Linked DNA regions of Homo sapiens: regions 1, 3, 4, 5, 6 and 7 are each linked to region 2. Evidence: promoter capture Hi-C in 16 types of primary human blood cells and fetal thymus (Javierre and others, 2016). All regions are on one chromosome and are shown on one strand. Each heading gives the region's core, a stretch centred on a gene start or on the middle of the fragment in contact. The rest is flanking DNA. Distances are from core to core; before and after follow the strand shown. Region 1 overlaps DENND1A (DENN domain containing 1A). Region 2 holds the start of LHX2 (LIM homeobox 2). Region 3 overlaps DENND1A (DENN domain containing 1A). Region 4 overlaps DENND1A (DENN domain containing 1A). Region 5 overlaps DENND1A (DENN domain containing 1A). Region 6 overlaps DENND1A (DENN domain containing 1A). Region 7 overlaps DENND1A (DENN domain containing 1A).

Evidence for each region. The method cuts DNA at HindIII sites, captures the fragments that hold promoters and counts their contacts. A CHiCAGO score of 5 or more calls a contact.
Region 1: a contact is called between a fragment that was not itself captured here and the fragment with the promoter of LHX2 in region 2, in 4 of 17 cell types (endothelial precursors, erythroblasts, M0 macrophages and 1 more). The highest score is 8.7, in endothelial precursors.
Region 3: a fragment that was not itself captured here is called in contact with the fragment with the promoter of LHX2 in region 2 in 6 of 17 cell types (megakaryocytes, endothelial precursors, monocytes and 3 more); the score reaches 8.7 in megakaryocytes.
Region 4: a fragment that was not itself captured here is called in contact with the fragment with the promoter of LHX2 in region 2 in 4 of 17 cell types (M2 macrophages, megakaryocytes, endothelial precursors and 1 more); the score reaches 6.7 in M2 macrophages.
Region 5: a fragment that was not itself captured here is called in contact with the fragment with the promoter of LHX2 in region 2 in 10 of 17 cell types (megakaryocytes, M1 macrophages, naive B cells and 7 more); the score reaches 10.7 in megakaryocytes.
Region 6: a fragment that was not itself captured here is called in contact with the fragment with the promoter of LHX2 in region 2 in 1 of 17 cell types (megakaryocytes); the score reaches 6.2 in megakaryocytes.
Region 7: a contact is called between a fragment that was not itself captured here and the fragment with the promoter of LHX2 in region 2, in 1 of 17 cell types (neutrophils). The highest score is 5.3, in neutrophils.

What each region holds. Positions count from the first base shown.
Region 1 is chr9:123,521,536-123,525,310 of GRCh38, reverse strand. All of the region lies in intron 13 of DENND1A (DENN domain containing 1A), which reads left to right. Among named protein-coding and RNA genes, the nearest start is that of MIR7150, 38 kb to the right of the region's middle. The HindIII fragment of the contact is 1,034 bases long and covers 1,435-2,468 here.
Region 2 is chr9:124,009,437-124,013,587 of GRCh38, reverse strand. It overlaps LHX2 (LIM homeobox 2), which reads right to left and starts at 1,820. Exons shown (of 5, transcript NM_004789.4): 1 at 1,120-1,820. The coding sequence starts at 1,239. RefSeq lists enhancers at 1-335, 336-908 and a silencer at 1,847-1,896. The HindIII fragment of the contact is 7,434 bases long and covers 367-4,151 here.
Region 3 is chr9:123,576,079-123,580,032 of GRCh38, reverse strand. All of the region lies in intron 12 of DENND1A (DENN domain containing 1A), which reads left to right. LOC105376266 (a long non-coding RNA gene) reads left to right here. Exons shown (of 2, transcript XR_930332.3): 1 at 1-3,954. Among named protein-coding and RNA genes, the nearest start is that of MIR7150, 92 kb to the right of the region's middle. The HindIII fragment of the contact is 927 bases long and covers 2,196-3,122 here.
Region 4 is chr9:123,612,588-123,616,475 of GRCh38, reverse strand. The region is part of intron 10 of DENND1A (DENN domain containing 1A); the gene reads left to right. Among named protein-coding and RNA genes, the nearest start is that of MIR7150, 130 kb to the right of the region's middle. The HindIII fragment of the contact is 1,522 bases long and covers 1,105-2,626 here.
Region 5 is chr9:123,559,227-123,563,138 of GRCh38, reverse strand. The region is part of intron 12 of DENND1A (DENN domain containing 1A); the gene reads left to right. Among named protein-coding and RNA genes, the nearest start is that of MIR7150, 76 kb to the right of the region's middle. RefSeq lists an enhancer at 1,630-2,191. The HindIII fragment of the contact is 1,278 bases long and covers 1,700-2,977 here.
Region 6 is chr9:123,502,657-123,506,715 of GRCh38, reverse strand. The region is part of intron 13 of DENND1A (DENN domain containing 1A); the gene reads left to right. Among named protein-coding and RNA genes, the nearest start is that of MIR7150, 19 kb to the right of the region's middle. The HindIII fragment of the contact is 4,077 bases long and covers 1-3,942 here.
Region 7 is chr9:123,595,320-123,599,059 of GRCh38, reverse strand. All of the region lies in intron 11 of DENND1A (DENN domain containing 1A), which reads left to right. Among named protein-coding and RNA genes, the nearest start is that of MIR7150, 110 kb to the right of the region's middle. The HindIII fragment of the contact is 3,573 bases long and covers 307-3,740 here.

The DNA.
Region 1 (3,775 bases), core at 702-3,201, 490 kb after region 2:
GCAGGCCAGAATCTACCTAATAGCAGGCCCTAAAAGTTAGCATAGAACTTTCTCTCTGAAGAGGGCTGCTCCCTGGGTCCTGGTTCCCATGCAGCCTTTCCATAGAAATAGAAGGTGTGCTTAGAAGGACAGCTTGCCTGGTTTCAGATCTTGGCTCTGCTGCTCACTTGCAGTGTGACCTCGAACACGTCTCCTCCTTTTTCGGAGCCTCAGCATTCTTATCTATCAAGTAGAGTGACTATGCCTGTTTCCCAAGGTAGTCAGAGAAGCTAGTGAGCCAAGGGCTATGGAACGCCTTAGCGATAAGAGGTATGCAGTGCCTATCTACTCCCTGTCCTTCCCTCATTTTTCAGTTATTAAAATGCAATTCTCTAGCTTTCCAGGTGTGAAACAGTCTGGGTTGAAATTCTTCCCATCTCCTCCTGCAAGGTAGCTAAGTCGGAGGTAGGCGTTTGGTTATATTCCCCAGTTGCTGTAACAAGAGCACATACCACTGTCTGCTCACCAATCAGTAAAGAGCACAAAGGTACAAATGTTGAGTACGTGGGACAGTGACCCCCTCTTGAAAGACAGCCTCAACTGTTACTGCCCAGCCTCCATCAGAGGGCAGCCTGAGACATTGTCATTGAAGAGATTCCAGTCGGGAAGACCGCCCTGGTTCATCTGCCACTTTACCAGAGGTCAAACTGGCAGCCTGCAGGCCAGATTCAGCAAATTCAGCCCTTAAATGTGTTTTGTTTGTCAAGTGCTGTGTTTGTAACCTTTTTTTAATTGGATGCTTCTAAATATTTGGAGACAGGGCATGGCTCATCTGTGTTGGCCACCACTCACTGTTGTCTTACACCCTGCCGCCTTCACTCAGTTCTATTCCTTGTGGACCCATGAAGGCTTTTGCGTTTGCAGCCTTTCTTTCTAGATCCACCCTGGACTTATTCCTATCATAAGCCCGACCATCCAACCCGCAGATATCATTGAAAGAGGTTTTGAATCCTTTTATTGTGTTTGCTGAAGCATATTGTTGACAGCATGATTCGTTTATTATCCAAAGACTATTTACTGAGTGCCTACTCTGTGCAGTGTAGGATGCCCTATTCTCAGTATCTCTGAGCATCCAGAGGAAGCCCCATCAAGTGGCCTCTTCTCCACAGACATCAGGAAGGAGTAAGGTTTCCCCCTGGGTAATTATAATAAAGACCTGGCATTCAGTACCAAGGCAGCACCCTGGGTTACGTGTATTTTTCATCCCTGACATGCCAGCAGATTCTTCACTCTTTTTCTCTAATACCACATGCTCCAGTCATCCCTTCTGTCATCACGCTGTTTCAGCAGGCACAAAAGGGCCTGCTCTCTTGTTTCCTTAATTGTTAGAGAGATTCTAGTTGTTGAGGGAGTTTCAGGTCCTCTGCCCATGATCACCTCATAGAAACTCAAGCTTCTGGACTAGAAGAGTTTTCATGCTTATCAACTATAATATTGATTCAAAGAGCAGACCGAGGTGCTTTCTGCATATAGCCCATACATTGAATACTTTTCAGGCCAGTTGATTCTAAAGCCTGACCTTGGAATCATATTCTCATTTCCAAGTCAAAGTAGATGGAGGAGCAGAGCCCTTTGCACTGAGCCACCAACATTTCTGGCCTTCGCTCTTCCACAAGCTGCCACTGTAAGTTTTTGGCTAGTTTTCCTTTTCATGAGAAATAGGTTAACTTTACAGTATGAAAGTACAGTTTTTCAATTTCAACTCTAATATTCCAAGAACAAGCTGTGAACTTTTTCACCTGGTGACCCATCGATCTGAATCTGTAGCCTAACACACAAATACTACAGGTTCCTTAATTGGGATGACTTGAGTTCAGATCTCTAACTCTGTAACGTATTATCTGTGTAGCAGTAAAAGCAAGTCAACGATTTGAGCTTTGGTTCTGTATCTTCTTATACACATGGAATAAGAGTTACCGCCTCGCACGGTTCTTGTGGGGCAGGCCTCCACAAGATGAGGAATGTGGAGCGCTGAGCAGAGCACATGGCATGCTGTTGGGGATTAGCCTAAGTGGCCTCCATCCTGTTGCTGTCACACGTAAGGGGGTTAGAGTATTGTTCATCCACAACACAGCTAACAGACCTAGCCCATGGACTGATCGGAGGCAACACTCTCTAAACATTTAACCCTCCCTCCTTTACCCCTCCTGAAATCTGTTTTGGTTTGTTAAGTATGTTACCAATTGTGGTCTCCTAACTCCCATATGTTAGCAATTAGATGTGGCCTCACATTAATGCTTTACCTCCATGTTTCTCTGCCCCACTAGACTGTGAGCTTTTGGAAGGAAAAGAGAGCTCAGTTCTTATTCACGTCTGTATTCCTAGCACATAGTGGGGCCTCTTAAAGTGTTTGTTCAAGACTTGGCTCAGATGCTGCCACTTATCAAAAGCAAATCTGCTTGTGGCTCCATCTCTCTAGACTTCAAGCTTCTTGCAGGCTGTGACAGCATCCGGGACGTCTCATGTTTCCAATGCAGATATAGTATGCTCCCAGTCAGTGTCAGCTGAAGGAATTAAGTGATATTTTCATCAGCCCGGAGCCCAGGACATAGTAGGAGCTCATTAAAAGGTAGCTGAGCTGCAGTTGTAATCATTAACACCAAGAAGAAGAAGAAAATAAAAATGGGCATCTGGTCACCCACTTTGGTGTGAAGTATGGACATTGATTGGAAGACTATTTCAGAGAAACAAAATGGCCCTTTATTCATTTTGGGGAAGGGAGGAGGGTTAGTAAAAGAGGGTCTTTTTCAAGTGTTTGCTCCATCTTGCTGCCACTTTACTATGTGTGGCTGCTGTTGCTATGGCAATTCTTTAAGCAATTGAATAGAACAGCACTAGTTGTTGCAAACCAGCTCTAATTGCTCCCATGCACCAGGCCTGCCCACACGACCACTCTCTGCACAGCATTCCCTTTTTCAGATACGTATTTTCATAAACCTCTGGGCATTGTGCAGCTCCCTTGCTCCTGTGACATTGCCATCCTCTGGCAGAGGGCACAAGAAGCAGCTCTGGGTGGGAGAGAGGGCTCCGCCAATTTTCCCTGTGTGAATGAGCAACACAGACCCCATGTCCAAGGGGGTAGCAGGATGCAGGCTCAGCAGGGCCTTGAAACCAAATAAAACATTTGTGGGGTAGGTTTATTATATATATTTGCCATTGTTGGGCAATTTAGTCATCTTTTTAAAGCCAACCATACCATTCCTGTGCCCTCCTGCCATGAGGGCCCCATTCATTGTGTACTGAGAACTTCTGGTTTTAACCTGAATGTAATTGGGGAGAACTGATATTAGAAGAAATGGAAGGGAGCCGGCATGGGTGGTGTCCCTCCTGTGTGCCAGGCAGCGTACTAGACACTTCCCATGCGTTGTCATTTCTTACACAGATTCACTGGGCAGTGGGTCGGGATAGGTCGGGGGATGGTAGCATCCCTGTTACAGATGAGGGAGCTGAAGGGCAGAGATTTAGTATGGAACCCATGGTAACAGCCAGTGAGTATATGGCTGGGATTAGATCCCAGTCTGATCCCAGTCTTACAATCACTGTGACGGATTCTGAGACCTGTGTTCTTTTCATTGGGCCACACTTCCTCTAGGAAGGAGGCCAGCCTTTGGTGACACAGAGAAGCCAGATTTCAGTGGACTGGCATTTAGCCAGCTCCCCTGTCCTTCCGCATGGAAGGCCCTTCTTTAAGGAATCATGAAACTTAAGGATTATCTTATGAACAATTTTATTGTAA
Region 2 (4,151 bases), core at 571-3,070:
TTCTTAAATGAGCCACCCGGGGGATAAGGTGACCATTAAGTCACCCTCCACACAGAATCCTCTTTGGAGAGACAGCGGAGTTCCTGGGCCCCAGCTCCAGTGATCCCTGGATCCTTAGACCAGAGGTTAAGGCCAGGACAAGTCAGCCAACTTCTGGCTCCTCTGCCACACGGGCTGGGGCCCTCTTGGGTCCGGGGATGAGGTAAGTGGGGTGCAGGGACACCCTCAAAGTCCGTGGGTGAAGGACAGGTTCAACCCAAATACTTCCCTATCCAAACTGACCAGCAGAGAAGGTCTAACCGAAGAAGCGCTCAGAGGCCGGGAGGACACTGGCGCCGCTGCTCCTGCTCCCGGAGCAGAGAAGCTTCTCCCGTGCTCCCCACCTCCGCGGCCTCCTAAAGGTCACTTCTGGGCCCGCTGGTCGGGCAGTGTCTGCTCGTCTGGCCCCCAGGGAGGCCTGAGGCGAGGAACTGGCTATTTGGGGCTGGGCCCGCGGAGCCAGGTGTAGAGATCCAAATGGAGTCTCCTTCGGCGAGGGCCAGGCCGGAGCCTGAACTCCCAGCCCTGGCCTGGCTAAGTCTGACCAGTCAAGGGTCTGGGGACGCGATCAACGACAAATGTTGGCCCCGAAGACTTCGGCCTCTGAAACTGCGCTGGGGGTTGAGGAGGATCCCCGATTGCCGGAAAGCTGGGAGCGGCCCAAGCCGGCTGGAGCCCCAATGCTCCCAGCTGGTTCGCCCTTCCCTGGCGCCGCTCGCGGCGCCGCCAGCAACCGGAGCCGAGAGGTGGAGGAGAGCGCGGGGCTGTCGACCCCGGCACCGGGCAAGGTGAGAAGGGAGCCGCCCCGGGCCGCGGATGGGACTTCGCTTCCAGTTCGGAAGAAACGCTCTCCTCTACCCCCAGGGCCGAGATTTCGGTTTCAACCTTGTTTCCCTTCTGCGTCCCAGCAGCCGGGTTTCCCCCGAACCGGGAGCCACCGGCCTTGCATTCTGACCGAGGATCCCCAGCACCCAGTCCCGTGCGGCACGAAGGACGCTCCCCAAACTTCGGGGAGCAGAGGCGCTGACTGGCCCGGCCCCATCCCAGCTCTCAGCCCCGACCCCACAGCCGCGCGCCTACCGTCTCGGTGTCGCCGCGGTCGATGGCGGAGCTGATGGCGGGAGCCTCGCTCTTGGCCCTGCGGTCCATCTCGTCGATGACCCCGTGCACCTCGGGGCCCGACAGACTGTGGAACAGCATCGCGGCGGGACCGGCGGGGCCGGGGGCGCGGCTCCTCCGAGGGAGGGCTTGCCCCCCGCCTCAGCTGCCTGGCGCTCCTGGCGCTAACGGGCCCGGTGCATCGCCACCGCGGCCCCGGCCCCGCCCGAGCTCGGCTGAGCCCCCAGGCCGGGCTCCGGGCCCCGGGCGCTCGCGGGGCAGGACGCCTCCCGCCGAGGCGCAGGGGCAGCTACATTGCGGGGCGCCTGGGCGACGGCGCCAAAGCCAGGGTCACAAGGGCACGGGACAAGCGGGGCGGGGGGAGCAGGAGACTAGGACAGAGGTCGGCGCCCGCCGCGGGCGCTTTCACGCCGCGGGCATCGCCCGCCCGGCTTCAGCGCCCGGGGCGCAAAGCAAGGGCGCAAACTCTGCCCGAGGCGGCGACGGCTGCGGTCGGGGTTCACCCTGAAGCCGCTAGGTGTCCGCGGCGGCCCAGCTGCCTGGACCCCTCCCCTCCCTGGGGTGCGCCCCCAGCCCAAGGCGACCCTCTTGGGCGCTGAGTCGGCGACTGGAGTAGGGGTTTCTCCGAAGCCTGCGAGCCGAGTCGAGCCACCGGGAGAATTGAAGAGGAGGAGGAAGAGGAGGAGGAGGAGGCGGAGGAGGAGGTGGAGGAGGAGAAAAAAGAGGAGGAGCAGAGTGGGAGGAGGAGCCGCCGGCCGCGGGCCCAGCCGCGCGCAATGCTCTCCAAGCGCGCGCCTAGCCCAGCCCCGGCTCTGCAGTCCGCGCCAGCGCAAGCCTCCGCGCCTTTTCTACAGCCGCGCCTGACATCACGTCCTGCCGCCGTGCCATTGGCCGCTCGGCGCCCCAGGCCCTGGCAGCGCGTGCTCCGGGAAGGCGGGAGACCCAAGAGGGAGGGGAGAGGCAAGAGGAGCAGAGGAGAGTCGAGATGGTGGGAGCTGGTGGGCGAGGCTGGAGGGCGGGGGTGGGGGGGAGGCAGGGAGGAGGGAGAGCGCGGGGTTTGGAGTTTTTAAGATACGAACAGCTTCCTGCGATATCTTCAGAAAGGAAAATTAAACCCTCTATCCTAAGAAGGCGCAGCAAGGGGATGCTCGTCTCACTGCGGTCTCCCCTCGGCCTGGAGCCGCGGCCTCAGGCACCCGCCTGGGAGGCCCGGGAAGGCAGGCCTGTGGCAGAGTTGCAAGAGCCTTCGGCCGGCCGTTTCCCATCGAGCTCCGCCTTCGGCCCGGGCTCTGCACAGCGGGCTGCAGGCGGCCGTGCAAGCCTCCTGGGTACCCGGCAGAGCCTGAGTGGCGAGACCGGCGAGAGCTGTGACTCCCGGGGAGGGGGGCCAGCCAGCATATCCACGCTCCAAGCCCGCTAGGGCCCAATCTGCAGCCCAGCGTGTAGCTTCTCGCTCTTCCCGGTCTCTCCCCAGCCTGGAAGAGTGGGGGCGAGCATGGCTTTAGGAACTCAGAAAGGCCAGGGTTCGAATCCTAGCTCTGCCATTTACATGCACTGTAACCTTAGGCAGTGACTTATCCTCCCTTAGCCTGTTTCTGACCTTTATAATGGGCGACAAGAAGCTCTCCTCCGCATGGACGTGTTGATTGAAAGAGACTGTGGATGTAAAATGCCTGGAACATAGTAGGCACTTAGCAAATTATTTCATTACTCTCTCTTGCTCCTTTTCCATTAAAAACTTTCTCACTCCAAGACACATTCGATATCAGTGAGGTTCTTAAAAACCACAGGCCTATTCTCTGCCCACTGGGCACACCATGTCTCAGACCCCGCTGATGGCGCGAGTCCTCCTTACCCGCCTGGCTGCACCACCTCCCCAGGGGCCAACAAAGTAGCGTGCTGGGTAAATCCCAACTGCTACCCCCAGCCTCCAGGTTTCAGGCTCACCCTAGAGTCTCCTGGGGACTGGAGGGAAATACCCAGGTGTCTGGTGGGGGAGGGATTTAGGAAATAAAATGATTGTAGACAAAAACTGAATAAGCACTTCGGTTACAGAGTCCCATCTGGGTCTGCTTCGGAGGCAGGTTTGGCTCCGTCTAATAGGGACAAGGCGGGTGTCAGTCTGAAATGACTTGTTTGCCAGGACAGGTAAGGGGATAGTCAGGACCTGCGGTTTACCTCACAGGGTACAGAGTTGAGGCATGAAATCATGTTTTTCACGTGTGTAAGTAACTTTCACACACAAATATATGTGTGCACAAATATATGTATGCGTGTAATGCCCAAGCACATGAACTTGTGTTCATGTGTGCAAATACACATGTTCATCTCTGTTGGCAATAACACAGCCAGCACGAATTTTATCTCTGTTGGCAAAATCACAGCCAGCACCACTGAAGAGCTAGGGTCTTACACATGCGCATCAGGTGTAAGTGTCTAGAGCTGGGAAGAAGGATGCAACTGCAAAATGGTAAATTGCACGTTATACCTGCACTTGCGTGCTCAGGCGATTCTACTTAAATCACTGCAAGTGCTCCTACGAGGTCGTTTTGCATAATTGAAAAAACTTGAAGTTACAATCATATGTGTATATTCTGCATGTGTACAGATGCCCCAACGCGAGGGAAGGACCACTAAACCCAAAGACGCGCGTGCCCGTGTGTTCACACAGACGTGTGCTTCGGCGCCTGCACACGGCCGGCGCGCAGGCATGCGGACGCCTACACGAATACATAGGCATGTTTTATTGACGCATCTGGGGCACTTTCTTTCAAAGAAAGTAAGGAATGAAAATCCAATCTGAGAGTCACCAGGGTTCATCTGGAGGTCGCCCAAGGGGCAGAAAAAATTTGTAATGACGCTAGAGTGTTTGTCCTTGGTGCAACTCCACTCTCGGGAGGGCTGGATACAATACGTTTGGAAAGCTCGAGGGGCTGCCTTAGGATCTGGGGGCGGGGGGTGGGGTACTCAGCAACTCTTGCCGCGGGCTGCTC
Region 3 (3,954 bases), core at 1,410-3,909, 430 kb after region 2:
AGATTGGAGGACAGTTAATAACCTCTATGTCCTGACAGTCTCAGCGTGCACAAATGGGACCTCCTATATGCAAGCTGGTTTGTAACAGGGTTGAGAATGTTCTACAGCAGTGGTTTCCAGCTTGGGCCTCTATACTCATTAAGGATTCTGAAGATTGTAATGGGGGGAGATGTGGTCTGTAAGGTATTTATTGTATTTCAATGGAATTCACAGCTTTGATTCTGTGATGCTACATGAGCTATCAAGAGGAGAAATCGTGCCCTGCCTGTCTTTGTGTCCCCTGCATTTGGCATAGGACCTGGTAATTTTAGTGTATCAGCCTATCCATCGTTGACCTTAAAATCTCCCCTTTGGCCAAAGTTGTGTGTTTACTCTGACAGATTCTGCTTCTTAAACATTTGGTAAATCCACATCCTCTTCCTCATCCCTCCTAAACACCACCTAATCTAAGCTTTTATTTTCCCCCTGCATTATTACCAGCAGACTCAAGACTGGCTCATCTGACTCCAGCCTCATCCCTCCAATCTTTCCGCCTCATGCCCCAGAGTGACCTTTCTAAAAACATAAACTCCATTTCCCACCTAACTAAAACTATTCCATCAGTGAATGTAATTTTTCAAAAAAACATTTAAGGACAAAAAAATTCTCCTATAACTTCCCATTACCTAGAGATTCAAGGCAACTTCCCTTTGTTGGCTTTGAAATCAAACAGACCTGTTTTCACATCCTGGCTTCCTCACTTCATGTCCGTGTGATCTTGGGCAAAATTACTTAAGCTCTCTAAGACTTAATTTCCACATAAGGTTGTTTGAGAATTAAATGTAATATATATAATATATTTAAAACATATATCCTATCAGCACAATCGACAGTAGCTGATGATGATGAATTATGGATGTGAATTATGATCCGCAGGGCATTCAGCCCTCCTTCATGATACCCCCCTGTTTTTGTTTCTCCATAGCTGTAGTTCTCTCTCCTCCCTGCTTTAAACTCTGTACTGTAGGTTTTTAGAACTGTTAATGGTTGTCCCAAATTTACATGTTGTTTCATAACTTCATACTTTGTATGCAGCATTTCTTTTGTCCCAGTGTCTTACCTCATCTATTAATCTCTCACTCATTCTTCAAGACCTGCTCTCAAGTATTTAATCACACACACACACAAACACATGCACACACACACACACAAACACACACTGAATCTTTTCTGACCTTCACGTAGATTTGACCATATCTTTCTCTATGTCCCCACAGCCCCTTGTGTACCTTGTGTAATTGTACTGATTTATTGCCCATTTCCCTTTTACTTGTCAGTTTTTTGGAGTAGCAGTAATTGAGTTTTATTCATCTTTGTTTTCCAAGAATCTAGCAGCCACTGAATAGATAGATGGAAGGATGGAAGGCACATATGGATTGGGTTATTATGGTAGATGAAATCTTGTAAAACATGGCATCTACGCTGGAAACTTTATTAAAAGAGGCTTGGGGCCAGACATGGTGGCTCATGCCTATAATCCCAGCATTTTGGGAGTCTGAGGCAGAAGAATTGCTTGAGGCCAAGAATTCAAGTTTGCAGTGAGCTGTGATTGCGCCACTGCTCTCCAGCCATGATAGAATAATTGGAACTGGATTAATCCTCCCACAATTTAAAACTCTGGACAAATATGAAAACAGCTGTTTTCACATGTTGGACAACAGACAAGACAAGATTGTTATCCCTGAGTGAAAGGAAGCCAGTGAGGTGAGGCCTACTATCCCACTGGCTTTCTGCCTTGAGGCATTTTCTGGATATTGGTACTAGAAGGGGAATCCCCAGCAAAGCACAACAGTCTTGGGGAGCTGAAAGATTAAAGAACAGTTTGAAGGGGAGATGGTTTACATTTGCAAGTGAGAGTATCAGACAGGAGGGAGCTACTCAGCTGAAGAGCTCCAGAAACCTGAATTGACAAACCTGCTGAAGACTAATCTGCCCATATGTAGGGTAAAACTCCTGACAGGAAACTATAAGATGAACAGTTCTCAGAGCTCACACAAGTCTAGGAATCCTGCAGGTTCTGACCAACCAGAGTCAGAGATCTTGTTGGTCATTCAGGACAATGATAAGAGACACCAGTAGGGCATGACTTGATAGTACATCTAAATTAGCTATAAAGATCATTTTAGCCCTGCCCTGAAAGAGCTTAAAATTAAGCTTTGAGAGGCACAAGAGAGGGCTTTAGGGGTCCTAAAATGTGCTGGATTTTAATCTGAGTGCCAGTTACATGGGGGTGAATTCGTCAAGCTGAGCACCAATGGTGTGTGCATTTTTATGTGTGTATGTTAAACTTCGATGAAAAGTTTTAAACAAACCTATTTCTTTTTAAAGAAGTCTTTAAAAGATCAATCTGATGTGCAAGAAATCTAACCTTGTGTCAAAATAAACTTCAACCCTCTTTAAAAGAAGGCAACACAATCCAATATTCGATAACATAACATTCACAGTATCTAACATCTTATTTTAAAAGTGCAAGACATGTTGAGAATGAGGAAAATGTCACCCCTAACAAGAGGAAAATTAGTCAATAGAAACAGACTCAGAAGTGACAGATATGATAGAACTAGCAGATAAAGACTTTAAAGTAGATTTTATGAAGACTATAAATATGTTCATGAATTTAAAGGAAGACCTGATTAAATGAAGGGAGAAATGGAAGATATTTAAAAATGAAAGGGAACATCTATAAGCAACAAATACACCTAGAATGAAAAAAAAATCACTTATGGGATTAAGAGGATATGAGATACCACTGAATAAAACATCAGTGAATTTGAAGATATAGCAATAAAAACTCCTCAATATGAAGCCAAGAAAGAAAAAAGACTGGAAAAAGTTAACAAAACTCAGTGATCCTATAGCATAATATCAAGAGGGCTAACATACTTGCAACTGGAGTCCCAGAAGGTAAGGAAGGTGAGGAAAGACAGAAAAAATATTTTAACAGATTATAGCTGATTTTTTTTTCAATTTTGATGAAATTATACTCAGAGCTCCAAGAAGCTCAATAAACCTGAAACACAATGGACCCAAACAAAACCACACAAAGATACATTTTGATTAATTGCTCAAAACCAAGAAAAGCTTAAATTAGCCAGAGAGAAAAAGGTATGAGAAGTAATTCTAGCAGACTTATTGCCAGAGACCATTTAAGGCAGAAGACAATGGAATGACATTTTTAAAGTAATGAAAGATAATTTTTATCAACCCAGAATTCTATATCCAGTGAAAATATCCTTCAAAAATGAAAGCACTGAGGCAGGTGGATCACCTGAGGTCAGGAGTTCAAGACCAGCCTGGCCAACATGGTGAAACCCCGTCTCTACAAAAATTAGCCAGTCATGATGGCGGGTGCCTGTAATCCCAGCTACTCAGGAGGCTGAGGTGGCAGAATCGCTTGAACCCAGGAGGCAGAGATTTCAGTGAGCCGAGGCTGCCCCACTGCACTCCAGCCTGGGAAACAGAGCTAGAATCCATCTCAAAAAAAAAGGCAAAACTAGGACTTTTTAAAACAGATACAAAATTGGAGAAATCATTGTCAGCAGACCTGCACTACAAAAGAAGTTCTTCAGCGGGGAAAAATGATATTATAGGGAAATCTGAATTGTAAGGAAGTGAAGAGAACCACAGATAGTAAATATATGGATACATGTAAGAAATTTACTTTCTCATTTGTAATTTCTAAAAAAGTTAATTGAGTATTTCAAGTAAAAATAATACCAGTGGAGGTATTCTGCTGGTAATAATACCAGTAGGGGGTGGAGAATAGAAGTATTCTGTTTAAAGGTTGTTACGTTACCTGTATACAAAAACTGGCATAATATTATTTGAAGGTAGACTGTATTAAGTTAGAGATTTATGTTGTAAACCTTACAAGGGCCACTAAGGGAGGAAAAAATAAGACAGAGATATATAGCT
Region 4 (3,888 bases), core at 616-3,115, 400 kb after region 2:
TCAATTCCAGCTAGTAAGGCAAATATAGTTTTATTCTGACTATGAACCCACTAGCTATTTTACTTTTTTAGCTATAATTATCCAGTAACCATTTTTTGTCGACAGTAGCATAATGGTTAAGAGAAGTCACTAGCAAGTAAGAGTAGCGTAAGAGACTTGGAAGTAGAAGGATTTGGGCTGGGATCACCATTAACTGGGTGATCCCATAGGCACGTTTTTGAGAATACCTTTTTAAGTCTATAAAATGGCCAGGCACAGTGGCTCACGCCCATAATCCCAGTACTTTGGAAGGCCGAGGCAGGTGGATCACCTGAGGTCAGGAGTTCGAGACCAAGCTGGGCAACATGGTGAAACCCTGTCTCCACTAAAAATACAAAAACCAGCCAGGCGTGGTAGTACGCACCTGTAATCCTAGCAACTCGAGGGACTGAGGCAGGAGAATCACTTGAACCCAGGAGACAGAGGTTGCAGTGGGCCAAGATCGCACCACTGCACTCTAGCCTGGGCAACAGAGCAAGACTCTGTCTCAAAAAAAAGCTATAAAATGGATGGTGTAAATTGGATTATTTGAGGATTAAATGAGATAAGGTGGCTGGAGCCTCCCATGCAGCCCTTGAAATGTGGTGTGTGCTCAGTAAATAGCTCGACTGTTTTACCCTTCCTGCTCTGCACATGGCACCATGGGAGGCTCTGGGAAACAGGATTCTGTGCTTTTGTGACTGACAATCTAGAGTCACCCTTCAAATCAGCACATGCTTTATGCCAAATGGGTAACCCGGACAAAAGCCCCTACCAAGAGAGGTGTTAGCCACCACTGGGCAATCTGAGAGGCAGGCAGCATGGCTTCAGTAGGACTTGAAGAAATAGTGAAGCTGAGGCCTGTGGGGCCACCATGTGACTGAGATGAGCTCAGAGGCACTTCAGGGACCAGAAGCTTCCTGTGATGGAAAAGGTAGCAGGGGAGGAGGAGCTCAGACAGAATGTAGAAGCTCCTAGGTCTTGTCACAGCTGCAGGCCAGCCCTTAGGGAGCAGGTTAGAGAAAACCACCTAACCTCCTTCCTCTGCAGGCTGTGGGAATGCTGGTCTCCAGGAAATAAGAAGCTTGCTTGATCCCCGTATCATGGGCTTGGGTTCTAGTCCCAGTTCTGCCACTTACTAGCTGTGTGACGTCAGATGAATGATTTAGCTTTTCCAATCTTAGTTTTTCCATCTGTGAAATGGTAGTTCTGATAGCACCCTCCTTATGCTGCTATGGTGAGAATCTAATGAGGAAAATGCCTTAGCCTATGCTGGCTCTTGGCAAATTTGCAGTCAGTGGTGGCTGCTCTTACTGGCTTCCTCTCCTACACTGGCAGTTACATTAGCCTGAAGAGCAGCTGTCTCATCGCTCTCACTAAGCCCAAAACCATGATCATTCGCATTCTCCAGCAAGATATGTTCTCTGGTGTCTGTTCTTTTTCTTTTTCCCGTTCTCTTGTCCTTTAACCTCTCTAATAAAGCCAGGCTCATTATTTCGAGCAGAATTTAAAACCACAAGACAATCTGTGTTTACACGTTTGTGTCTTTTACAAAAAAAGAAAGAAAAGCTCACATAAGACCTCCTTCAGAGTTTTTCTTTCTGACTGTGGGATCCCCTTTGCCTGATCAGGGTATTTAATTAAGAAGGTGGTGGCCCTCTGAGAGGTAAGGTGACACTGTGATGTGTATATTGTAACGTGGATACCTATGTGTAAACAGTGATCTTTCCAAATCCCTGGGCTGCCCTAAGCTGTGTTCCTTCATGATAGCAGAGGTGTTGCCCACCTGGAGGTGGAGGGACCGCCTCTCCCTTGTTTCCTCTCCCCTCCCACTTTGTCTTGGGAAGCTGTATTTTTTTTTTTTTTAAGCAGCCAGTGTTCCTTTATTTCACTGGACTCATTTCCAATTAGTAGCTGCTCACCTCAGGGGAACATGATTAACAGAGCCCTGGTTATCTGGGGGAAAGGAATTAAACAAATTGTGAAAGTGCGGTAATAATGAACAAGGACTACAGGATCGTTAGTAAGTCTGCAGTTTCCATATTCTTGCTTCTTCCTTGCTGGGAATAAGCTCATGCCATAGGACTTACCTGTCAGAGAAGCGCTCAGCATCACAGGCCTGGAACCAAGAGGACTGGCGAATAGCCCTTTTGGTACCCCAGCGCTCTTTTCCTTTCAGCTTAAGTACTGAGTATGTGCTGTGTGACCTCATGTGCAGAGCTTGGGCTGTCTGTTCAGCAGCCTTGCGTCTGAAGTACGGCTTCACCACTGACCAGCTGTGCGATCTTGGCAAATTTTATCTTTCTGAGCGTGTTTCCTAACCTGAAAATATGGATGATCGCACCACCTTGCAGAGTTCCCTTGAGCATTATGTGTGTAATGCATAAAGGTGACTGAATTATAGTAGCTCAATAAAAGTTCCTTTTCCTCTTAAGAGGATTCAAACTAAAGATATCTTCCAGGTAAAGGTTATTCTGTTGTGTCTGCCTCAACACCAGCAACAGAGCCCTTTTCCTTTTCAGGGGAGAAGGAAAAAAGAGTCACTTTTACTCTCACGTTTGTAACTGATGAAATCAGATAGTGCAGTAATTCCCAGAGAACAAAAGCTTCATACAGATATACCCCATTCTGCTATTCCAGGATGTACAATAGCATCCTACAATCACTGTCAGTCATACAGCAGTTGTGACATGGTTGTCATGACCTGCCTATGCATAAGTTTGGTTATAACTGTTAATATTATCACCACTTTAATTTAATTATGTGCATTGTTGGTTCTGCACATGTTGTTTAATTGCCGTTTAAAATGTCTTCAAAATTGCACTATGATTCAATATTGAAAGGTAAAGTCACTGTGAATGCTAAAAGGCTCTGGAGAAGAGAAGCAGAGTATATACATTTGCTATTACTGAAGCAGATATTTCCATTCATGTTTTCTAGAACAGCAACAAATAAGTTCTTTCTTGAACCTAAACAGGAAGATCACTTCTAGTAGATGGATTTTGGTTTGGTTTTGTAACTGAGATACCCTTGGAAAAACATGGACGTTTATGCCTCTGAATTAGAAAAGGATTCAGATGTGTTGGATTCTGAATATGAAGAAGTTTTTTTTTTTTAAATAGCTTACCCAATTTATTTTGCTGTTTTATTTTTAATGTATGCTCAAGAGTGATAAGAGGTTTTTAAAAATGTGTCCAAGTGATCAGAAAGTCATGAACCATTGTTTCATTGATAGTTTTTCCGTTATTGGTGGTACATTAGAAAGGAAAGGCACCCTCCTGACGAGAGTGATGAGCAACCCTCCTGAACTCAGTGGAGTATCCGGGAGACAAGAGTGTGCTTGGGAGTCAGAAATCCATGTGTAGAGATGGTGTGTGCCTGTCAAGCACCTCCCATTCCTCATGGCATCTTGACCATTCTTACCAGCAGTTTACCAGGTATCCTAGAGCGGGTATGCTACAGAACCAGGGCTGGAACAAGAAACCATTCTGTGGGTAATAGGAGAGTGGGTCCAATGGTGCCAGCCATGCCAGGGGCTCAGAGAAAACCCTACCATGTGCTGCTGCTGTGCCAGGTACGTCAGAGGTTGTCTCTAATCTCTACAACAATCCTGAAAGATTTCTACTAGGCCAGGTACTGCCTTATTGGAGAATGCTTTGCTAGGATATAACAAAAGATAAGAAACAGCCCTGTCCTTTAATTTTTAGTAATTCGGTGTCTAGGAATTCATGCAACATGAAGGTGTTCATTTTTATCACAGTGATACTTATAGAAAATTGGAAGCAACTTAATGTCTACTCTAGGGATAGCATTCGATAAATTATGATACATCCATATTTGGTGGAATATTATGCAGTCTTTAATAATCAC
Region 5 (3,912 bases), core at 1,089-3,588, 450 kb after region 2:
GTCTTAGCAATGGCATTCTACAGAAGAGGAATGAATATCACTTTCTCTTCCCATCCTTTCCAACAGAGACCAGTTTCTTCTAATGATCCGTCACTAAAGAATGTGATCCTAGACTTTCCTCCAAGCAGAGAGGCTCAGCCACTGAAAATGCCTTTCACAATGTCAAGCACTTGCTCATTCGTTCTTTCATTTGGCAGAAAGTACTGCATGAGTACACTGAGTCAAGAACTGTGCTGGCTGCTGGCCCTGCGGGGAACTCAGTCCATCAGGAAAGGAGGTAGAAACTGCAGCTCACCATGGAACCACCTGCTCAGTCCAAGGAGGCCCAGACTTAGTGGTCAGGGCAGGCTTCACAGATGGGGGGACATCTGGATTCCCTCTTTCCCTTAACCCAAGGCAATGGGTAATTTGACTATTAAAGAAAAATACCTCATTTTAATTCTTTATTATAAAAGTAACATATGCTTTTTTATAAAGGATAATCAAAACAATCAAGTGTGTAAAATAGAAAGTGAAAGCATCCTTGCATGGTTAAAGTTTGGTAATGTAGCATTTTAGATTTTTACTGCATATATATTTATATATAATTTTTAAATGGTTCATGCTGTACATGTTACTCTGCAACCTGCATGTTTTTCCTCACTCGACAGTATTTGACAGACATCTTTTTGTGTCAGTTCATAGAGTACCGCCATGTCCTTTTTGGCAGCTATGTGATATTTCCTGGTGAGGATGCGGGATAATGTATTTCAGAGGCCCCCATTGATGGAGACTTGGATGGTCTTTCAGAGGCTGAATAGATGTTCACAAGCAGGACAGGAAGGGACAAGAGACAGCCAGGACTGAGCTAGTGACATGGAAATGGGCTGAAGAGTAGCCTGTGCTTCTGGACATCCAAGTTTAACATTAAGTGGGGCAGGTGGAAGTGAGGCTGATGGAGGACAGCCTGCACAGTCTGCTCGTGGAAGTTTGGATGTTTTTCTGAAGGTGATGATGGTGAAGGGCGGGGGCACCGAAGGGTTTTGATGGAGGATCAAAGTGATTGGATTTGGATTTTTCCAAGATTACTAGGACAGATATGGGTGAATGGCATTGAGGAGAAACTGAAGGCAGAAGAAGGCCCACTGAGGAAACCGCTCCACTAGTCTGGGCCAGAGAGGGTGATGGAGCTGAATTTGCAGGGCCAATGTCATGGGCACTGAGAGGAGAGGATGGATTCAGGGCATATCTGGGTTGGTGTTGAGGAGATGTGGAGAATGTTTGTGGGAAGGAGGGAGAAGTAGGGAATCTGACATCTGACGCCTGGCCCAGGAGACTGGCCGGATGATGCTGCGGTAACCAAGATGGCACACAGAGGGGAAAGGGCGTCTTAGACAGAAGCTGGCAAGTTCAGTTTTGCCCCCTCTTTCCTTTGCCTTGTCTTCCTCCTATAACACCCGATTAAAGGAGGAAGCCATCCTCACCAGCACTTACAACACACCCAAATTACCCCTGATGAATCCCGATGTTAATGATTTGACCAGCACCCCTCGGGGTACTGAGGGCAAGTTCAGCTTTAGATATATGACTCTGTGTTGTTTAAACCTGAAATTGTCTTCCCTTACTTTTATTTAAAGGACAAATGCTACTCCCCAGCGATCAGATGCACAGATACTTGCAGTTTCAAAGTTTGAGGTGCTGGCAGGTCAAGACAAAAGCTTCTCCATGTTTCAGGGTGACAAGAGGTCTTCAGAAGTCCTGGCCTAAGTGGTCACAGGGGCATCAGGAGCCCAGGACCACTTGGCTAGTTTCAGACCAGCTGGGGCAGGCAGGAAGGGACACACTCGTATTTGCTCAGTTACAATCAACGACTCCTTCTTTGTGTAAAATGGTAATGAGGCCATTAGGAGAGGCTCACCTGAAGTGCAGCGTTGTGAATCCAAGGTAATTAAACACCTCCCGAATGAAAGAGAAAGGCCAGGGAAGGTTAAGTGAGGAATAATCTGCGGCACAGGTGGCCCAAGGCCCTTGAGGAGCCAGAAGGAGAGCGACAGTGGCTTGCACCATTTCAAAGGATGGAAATGTCACTGTAGTCCCTGGGAGGGGAAGGATTTTTATTTTTATTTTGGGGGCAGGGGCAGGGAGTGGGTAGTATTTTTAGCATGTTAATAGAGCATGCTGCTTTTTCATACTTCTCTTTGTAGGTGGAAGTCCATGGCAGAGTCAGCCTGGGTGCTGAGTGGCCTGCATTGCTCCTCAGGGGCTCTCATCACTGTGGGGCTGGGGCTTATGTGTCCTTGATAAGGGGAGGTCATAATAAATCAGTTATAGATACCCGGATGTTGAGGTAGACTTCAAACTGCTTCCAAAGGAATTGTTTTCCATGGTCCCCTCTTGGAGTAGAGGTGGGATAACTACCCCCTCAGTGTATGTTCCCAGGGCTTTTTACTTTTCCTTTTTTTTTTTTTTTGAGACAGGGTCTCACTCTGTCACCCAGGCTGGAGTGCCACGGTGCAATCATAGCTCATTGCAACCTCAAACTCCTGGGCTCAAGCAGTCCTCCCACCTCAGCCTTCTAAGTAGCTGAGACTACAGGCAGGTGCCACCATGGCTGGCTAAATCTTTTTATATTTTTTATAGAGATGGGATCTCACTGTGTTGCCCAGGCTGGTTTTGAACTCCTGGCCTCAAACGATCCTCCTGCCTTGGCTTCCCAAAGCGCTGGGCACGTCCCCATGGCTTCTAACTTATCAGAGGAGGGTATCAGTCCCATCTTCACTCAGTTTAGTGTCCAAACATGAGGCACGCCCTTTATCAACAGCAAAGGATTGTTTTCCTGTACACAGTTCACATTTATGAATGGCTTCCTAGGCACTGAGCACTGTGCTTGGTGACTTCATGTATCCTTCCAGCTTGTCTTCATTGCATAAGGTCTGGCAGAGGATTTTTGCTTTTCAGATTGTCACCTCAAAATTTCCATTGTCTCCACACAAAAGCTTGCACATGAATCTTCGTAGCAGCATTATTCATAACAGCCAAGAAGTAGAAACAGCCCAAATGTCCATCTGCAGATGAACAGATCGATAAAATGTGGTCTATCCATACAGTGGAATATTATTTAGCCATAAAAAGTATGAAGTCTTGACACAATGCTACAACATGGACGAACCTTGTTCATAAAAGCACTGTGCTAAGGGAAATAATCTGATGGCAAAAGACTACCTATTGTTAATTCCATTTATATGAAATGTCCAGAGTAGGCCAACCTGTAGAGACAGAAGGAAGGTGAGTGGTTGCTTGGGTCTGGTGTGGGGGAAAAATTGATAGGTAATGGGGAGTGACAGCTAATGAGTATGAGGTTTCTTTCGGGGGTAATAAAAATGTTCTGGAGTTAGTAGTGATGGTTGTACAGTCTTGTGACTACACTAAAAACCACCGAACTGTGTACTTTAAATGAATGAATTTTATATGTGAAATATGTCTCAATAAGCTATTAAAAGTTTTTCTTATCAGAAGCTTGGGTACAAGACCTAATGTGCGTGGATCATTTCTAAAGTATGATCTAGTCCTTCCCAGGTCGGATTTTTTTTTCCCCAGACTTCTCAGCAAGTGATTCTTAATATTTCTAGGGTCACAGGCACCTTTAGGAATCTGAGGAAAGCTGTGGATCCTGCGCCCAGAAAAATAATCTTCACTCATTCATACTAAAAATCTGTAAAGGATTCATGGACCACCTAAATCTAATTTTCTATTTTATCCTAAGTTTTGTCTTTAAATGATGTCATACCAGTAGCTGGTCTCTTACAGAATTAGTTTCTGTGAAACGTGCTCTTGATATGTTACCTGCATGCTTAAAACCAATCATTAGTTTTCTGTTTCTCTCTCAAGATGAAGGAAAAAAATCCCTTCAGGCCCCTGCCTTTCTCTCCAGCC
Region 6 (4,059 bases), core at 655-3,154, 510 kb after region 2:
CTCTGAGCCTATTTCCTCGTTTGTGAAACAGTCATAATTACCCTAATCTCTGTAAGTTGTTATGAGGATAAATGTGGATACACTTATTAATAATCATCATAGTAATAATTCTTTTTTTTTTTTTTTTTTTTTTTTGAGACAGAGTCTCACTCTGTCACCAGGCTGGAGTGCAATGGCACGATCTCGGCTCACTGCAACCTCCGCCTCCCTGGTTCAATTGATTTTCCTGCCTCAGCCTCCCAAGTAGCTGGGACTACAGGTGCACGCCACCATGCCCAGCTAATGTTTGTATTTTTAGTAGAGACAAGGTTTCACCATGTTGCCCAGGATGGTCTCGATCTCTTGACCTAGTGATCCGCCCACTTCGGCCACCCAAAGTTCTGGGATTACAGGCGTGAGCCACTGCCTGGCCAATAATTCTTAAATAGTGCTTACTCCGTGCGGGGCACTAATTAAAGCACTTTATACATATTACTCATTTAATCCTCACAACCACCCTGTGAGGTAAATAATATTATTTTTTCTGTTGTGCAGATGAAAAAACTAAAGCACAGAAAAGTTAATTGATTTGCCCAAGGTAACACAGCTAGGAAGCATTAAGGTCAGAATTGTAATGCAAAATGTCTAGCTCCAAAGTCCTTGCTCTTAATCACCATACTGTGTGGGCTCTCGGAGGTGTTTGGTGAATGCTTATCATTTCTGGAAACTTTCGGCTCAGGCGCATGAAGGGGGCACACTCACTCACGTTGAGGAGCAGCGGCACAGAGGATGGCATTGCTAGCCTGCTCCTCTTGATCACAGGGCACTTGTCTAAGGGAGGCCACGTTGTTGAAGAGAAGAAATAGCATCTCTGACCCAAGGCCATCCGAGAGCCTCGTGTCGCTGGGGGACCTTTAAATATTCTATTTCTAAATTTCAAAGCTAGTTTGGGCTATATTTACAGCATTTAACATATGAAAAATCATTGGGAAAGTGGGCTTTTAAGTGGAACGGTTGTGTAATGGAATATTTCACGTTCCGGTTCAGCCATAAAGCTCAGGGCTGATAAACAAAGCATCTGAAGCCAAATGGCTCCTCATCTGACCCCAATTAAAATAAAGATTTCATTCCATTCTGTCCTGACAGAGAGGAACATATTGTTGCCTTTAAGGGAGTTTGGTTTAGTTAATGAAATAATTTTATTTCATTTTTCCCCCCAAATACAATATCTAATTAAATAAGATTCAATTTGTTAGGACTTCTGGTAGGGATATGTTAACTCTTTTAAAGCTATGTTGCCTACATGCCTCAAAATGTGGAGGGTGCTTGTGAATCCCACTTCGCAATCCATTGTTTAAAGAAGAAATAAGCCCAAGTCACTTTAAAGACAAACATTATCTTCTCCAAGGTATATCTGTTTACATCTCCACTATAGCAACCTGTGTATGTAAGTAAGTAGCATGGATTCTGTACAAAATATCACATATTTACATAAAGCCCCATTTCCTAGAAGCATTTGTACTTGTACATATTGTAATTTACCAATCACCATAGATCTGTCCATATAGAATATCTCACGCAGGGAGTTGTAGCTGCTAAAATATGTTAGGTAACATAAGTTGGGTATTGATGCCAAATTATCACGGAGTTCCTTCAGAGTTATCTTGCAGAAATATGTGACTGTCTAAAGACTTCATTATTTAACATTAAGAGTGAACACCAGCAAAACTCTTCTTTTACAAGGGGGGTGGGTTCTTGTGTCATGCTGTCGCCGCTTTCTTGTAGTCTTTTCTGTATGTGCTGTGGTTCATCGTGACTGTTGGGTCCATAATTACCAAGCAGAACATGTTGGTGTCATTATGGAGAAGTTCTCTTCAGCTTAGCTAGGCATGGGGAGGCATTTGGATTGTGAGGCCCTGATTGGTCACCTCCATGCCCCTGAAGAACTGCCTTGGTAGTCCACAGAGCTGTAGGGAACTGCTGGCCTGGGCATCAGGAGTGCCGGCCCTGCCTGAGCGCCTCTCTTCTCTGGGCTTCAGTTTCTTCGTCTTTAAAATGACAGCACGGGGTCAGCAGGTCTCCAAAGACCCATGGCTCTGCCTCCCTCAGATTCTGTATTCAGTAGAGCAGAAAGTACATGATGTTCTGAAATCCACTAAGAATTTGTAGTCAGATGCTAAGGATTTATATTCTGAGAAATGAAAAATTTTTTAACTGTATAAAACCTAAGACATTTAAATCAGACTTAAAAACACTCTGTCATTTTCCAGTGGCTCCTTCTGATGTTCTGTGAGCATTTGGTCAATGTTATAAGCATGCATCCCGTGCAGGCCTAGTGTCAGGTATACAAAGACAAACCATTCATGGTCCTGCCTTCCAGGAGCTTACCTCCCAGTGGGGGTGAAAAGAGAGTCAAGAAGTCATCCCTTGTTAAAGTACAACAGGGTAGGGTAGGTGAGATGAGGTGAGGGGCAGGTGTCCCAGAGGAGGGGATATTTTGGCGGGACCTCGAAGGGCGAGTGCAGTTTCACCAGATGGCGAAGGGCAACTCATTCCAGGCTGAAATGCTCAAGAATAGACGGCACAGCCTACTGGGGCAAAATGATCATTTCTGTGTGCTTGCAGCATGGAAGTGGGCTGAGAAAGAAGCAAAGAGAACGATAAAACCAGAAAGGAAGGCTTGTGAAAAACCTCAGAATCATAGAAGTTCCTTTCAAAGGAGTATGGCCAATGTTTTTCAAACTGGTAGAAATGGGTATTCTTTGAATAAAAAGAGCCAAGACCCTGGGAGTACAGATGACTCAGTTCCCCTGTCAGAAGCACACAGGGAACGATAAAGACCCGACAGGACCCTCAGCCATTGCCCAGACTGAACTTGGCTTAACCCAGTGTGTCTCAGACTCATTGACCATCAAGCCCTCCTGAGGCAGAAGACCTGTTGGTGATGGGGAGATGCACTGGAGCTCTAGTCATTAGAAACACAGAATCCAATCAGCATTTTAGAAAGACTATGCTGGCCTACAGGGGTGGGAAAAGGGAAGGGAGGATGTCATAGTATCAGAAAGTATCAGGCATTAGACAGCTAGTTGCACTTGAAGTTTTTCAGGGTACATTTCAAGGAGAATCTCCTCTGAATGTAATCTATACCTTCTCAATGCTGATATGTGAGTTTTACGTGAGTCCGATGAGCTCAAGACTGGCCAGATGCTGCTATTTAAAGTCATCTGCCTGGCAGCCTTTCAAGAGCTCATAGATAACATTGGTGGCTGTTACAGAAATGGGCTGAGTGTTAAGAGGTTGCAGGCAGAAGATGAAGACTGATGTTAAAGATTTCCATGGCTCTTTGAAGCCATTTGTTGAGGGCATACCAGTGCCAGGGGCTGTGCGAAGTACTCTTAAATACACTCCCAGCTATTCCTTGAAACCATCTAAAAAGATATTGCTGTTGTTCCACTTTGATGAATAAGGAGACAGAGGCATAAAGAGAGTAGTTGACTATGCCAAGGTCACATGGCTGATATTCAGGTCTCAAATCCATCTGACTAACTCCTAAGTCCATCATCTTAACACTGCGCTTCTGTAGATAGCATGCCGTAGATAACCTCCATCTCAAAGCACTGACCACCTGCCAGGTATTATGTGAAGCACCTGACATAATGATATTTAATGTACTCTCCCCAAAAAGCCTAAGAGGTGAGTGGTATTATCCCTGCTAAATCAATGAGCAAACTAAGGCTTCATCATAGCAGCCATGGTCACGGCTAGATCTTGCAAAGCTGGGAACTGAGCTTCAGTCTGTCTGCTCACTACTCCCCCTAAATAATTTTTAGAAAGTTATTCATGTTGCTCAGAAATGTTTCTCTGTAGCCATGTTAGAAAGTTAGTGGGCTCAAAATAGATCAAGACCTAAATTTAAGACCTAAAACTATGAAAACCTGTGGAAGAAAACATTGGGCAAAAGCTTCACGACACTGGTTTTAGCAATGGCTTCTTGGCTATGACACCAAAGGCACAGGCTACGAAAGAAAAACTAGACAAATTGGACTTCATGAAAACTTAAAAATTTTGTCTATCAAAAAG
Region 7 (3,740 bases), core at 844-3,343, 410 kb after region 2:
GATGAACAGTGGCACTGAAGTTTTGTTTTGTGGTTGGAAGTTATCAACATCCCTGAGAGTGGTTTATGTGTCTTGCCTAAAATCCTTCCCTCCATAAACCCAAATATTGACAAAAGCTAAAAGGTGCAGATTGGAGCTGTGCCTAGACTCCTGGACACTTCCTTAGCCAAATATAATGTCTGCTAAACCTTGGTGCCTAGGAGTCCGTTGTTTCCAAAGATCCAGTGGTAATAAATTTATATCCTCCCTCTTCAGCATTTAACTGCAAATATTTTGTACTGACCGAATGGGTTAAATTATGAAGCTTGATAAGTACATATGCACACTACCCATCCCTAGCTTTAGAAGAAGGGGGAAAAAAAAGAAAGAAAAAGATAGCTATGATTTTTGGATGTCATCCCAATTTTTAAAAATAAGAGAATTTGGACATTTTGGCATATGGGGTTTTTTAAATGAAATTTCATGGAACTGAAAACAGTCAATTTTAGGTTTCCAAAAATTGTTTAGATTTTCGCTGGTATAAATTTGCTGCACATGGTTTTGGGGAAGTTCTGAGAGATGCATTTGGGACTTTGGGGTTGGTTTTTTTTTTTTTTTTTTTTTGAGATTTGTGATTGAGTTTTAAAAGGTGATTTTCCCCCCTCCCCCAACCTCAAAGTGTAAATCAGGGGAGATCAGAGTTCCATTTTCTAAGGACACTTTTGGGTAATGACATCATTATGCACTGCTGCACAACTGGACTTGGGGCTGAGTTATTGAGCCTTGTTTCAGCACCATTTGGACACTGCACAGTATATTCCCCTTCCCTGCCTCGGAGTGATTTTGGCCGTGCCATTAGCAGCAGCTGCTGGTGATAAGCACCGGGAGAGTCACCTGTGTAGGGTCAGGCTTATTGCACATCAAGGTTTGGCAGTGTCAGAAGAGAGGGAAGATGCCCAGGAGGGGGCTCCAGGCCACCTGCCGAGTGAAGATCAAAGGGTTGAAAGGTCAGAGGGCTCAGCTCCCTTAACTGTATCTGTCTGTGCAATAGCTATTTCAGATTGTAAATCTTGGCGATTTCATTAAGTCCTCCTGGCTGCTACTGGGGCATTGAAATAATAAAATTTTATATCTATTGCCTTTCCTGCCTCTGGCAGCCAGGCTGATACGTTGTCTGCAAGATGGGGTCGTCTTTATGAAAACCTTCCCTGGAATGATCTGAGTAGCATTAATGAAGCCTCAGATTGGGAAGTTGGGGTTCATAGGACGTCATCCTCAGCAGGAGGGAGGGGGTTTATAAATAAAGAAGACCCACACAAACCATTTAGCAGCCTTTTAGATTTGTGTAGCACCTCTCTTCTGAAAAGCAGGTCAGCAAAATATTACCTATTGCTAAATGTTTAATCTTAGGAGGAGGGGTGCACTTTCTCACTGCTGCTGCTTATTAAATAGCCCCTGTTCTAATGACCCTAGGGCCCATCCTTTTGAATAACCCCAAGAGCAGCTATACAGGTCTCACTTCTCACTCTGCAGACCTTTTGGGTGCTTTTAGAGACATGTCTCCTGAATATGATTTTCCAAGTATTTTTCCTAGATCTTAAAGTTGTTAAGGACTGTGAGGGCTCCTAGGCTCGTGGGTAGGACAAATCAAAGTAATAGCTGCCCCTTTACTGCCCATATGTTTAAGACCCCCTGTAGTTTGTTTGAAAAGTTAAGAGATTTTCACAGTGAAGGTGCCATTTCTGAAATTTAAAGTGTTCCTTTTCACCGCAAGATAAGTTCACTCTGATTAAGTCCGTAATTCTCACTAAGCCATGTTTATGGGGGCAATAAACAATGTTTCAGCGTGCTTGTTAAATTGGGTTTCCAACCTCTCCACTCTTTAAAAATTGACATTTCAAATAAAAGGCAGGTGGAGATGGGAGTCGGGCTTTGCAGTGCTTAGTGATGAATGAATGATGGCAAGTGGCAGTTGTGTGGGAGGAATGAGGTCCTATTTTATGATAGGGTGACCCCAAACCATTTGGGGACTAGGGAATCAACATCCCCCACACTCCCAGTGAAACTCTTAAATTCAAGTTCTATTGTTTCACTTTGGATGGATGCTATTTTGAACTACTGCCAGACACGTTATGCTCATTATTTAATTTTCATAATGCATCTGTGCTCTGGTAGTGGGGCCCCTATTTTACAGATGATGAAATATAGGCACAGAGAGGTTAAGTAACTTGTCCAAAGTCACACACATAATTAGGAGGAGCAGGATTCAAACACAGTTATTTCATTGCATGAAGCAGTTTAGTGTGTACAAAAGAAAACTATTATACTGGCCCTACTTTTAGGGCTTGCTTGCCACTGTGTTTCAGCACTCTGGTAAGTCTATACATGGAGGTCACAAGAGACGTGTGGAAGTGGCCACTGTCCTCAGTATTTGCTTAGCACCAGCTCTGTGCCTGGAAAGTGGAGGAGGCTGCACAGCGAGGAGAAAGGCACCAGGCTTTGGGGTCAAATCCCAAGCTCAAATCTTAACTCTGATACTCTATGATCTGGGGCAAATTACTGTACCTCTTGGAGCTTCAGGTTGTTCTTCTGTAAAATGTGAATAATAAAGCTCATTTCAAGAGGTTGCTTTGAGGATATTTTAAAATAATACATTCTAAAATATAGGTAAATATAAAATATGGTATGTTCAAAAATTCAACACTGCTTTACAGGTACCAGTGGTAAACATTACCACAGTGTATGTGAATAGCGTAAGGTTTAAAGCAGTTATTTTAAGGGGAAAGTGATAGCGCACAGGAAACATCACTAAACAAGTTTTAACTGCAGGCCAAAGAATCTGTTGTTCACTGTGCTTGGCATGGGGTTTAGAGATGACAACCTGAGGCGGGGATAGGAGTAGTCAGGAGGGTTTTCTAGAAGAGCAGGATCTGCTGGGTGGCAGTAACGTGGCGAGCTATCTCTGGGCCATGCTTCTCATCTTATGGAGTGCTCTGCCATATCATCGCATGTTTGTGCTTTGCAGCTGTGGGGAAAGGTGTTGACACCTTTCTTGTCCTCTTTTTACACATGAGGAAACTGAGTCTGCAGCAGTGGGAAGCCTGCTTCAGTTTGAGACAAAACACCAGCAGAGTCAGAGTGTGAGTAGGCTCCCCACTCCGTTCTGGATGGCAGAGTGGAGGCCAGGCTGGATGGAGGTTCTGTGTTGGGGTGGATTTCTAGAGTGGATTGCTAGGAGGACTGGCAGAACCCAGCTCCCAGAGGGGGGCCAGCTGGCACTGACCGAGCGTCTGCTTGATGGTGGACTCTGTATGAAACATGTGTTCCCAGTGTCTCCCCCAATCTTTTCAACAACCCTGAAGGTAAGGAGCATGACCTCGGCTCACAGCAAGGGAAACTGGTGCTAGAGAAGGCTGAGTGCCTTGCCTGAAGCTGCCTAGCTGGTAAGTGAAAAGGCCAGGACCCCAGCCTGGAGACTTTCTGGCCCTGGGCCCAGGACCATGTCGGGGAGAGAATGGGGCTGGTGGGTGAGTGGGAATGGTCCACTGGTCTGCTGCATACTACTGTGCCCTTTCTCAGATCTACCCACAGCCCATCCACAAGGAGAGGCGGGGAGCCCCTTGAGTTCAGAGATCATGGTTTAATCGTCTCTGTGTCCCTAAGACCTAGCGTAAAGTTGACATGAATGACGGCTCCATACGTGATGTACCAAATGAGTGAGTGAATGAACACCCAGTGGATCGATGGCCAGGAAAGGGGCC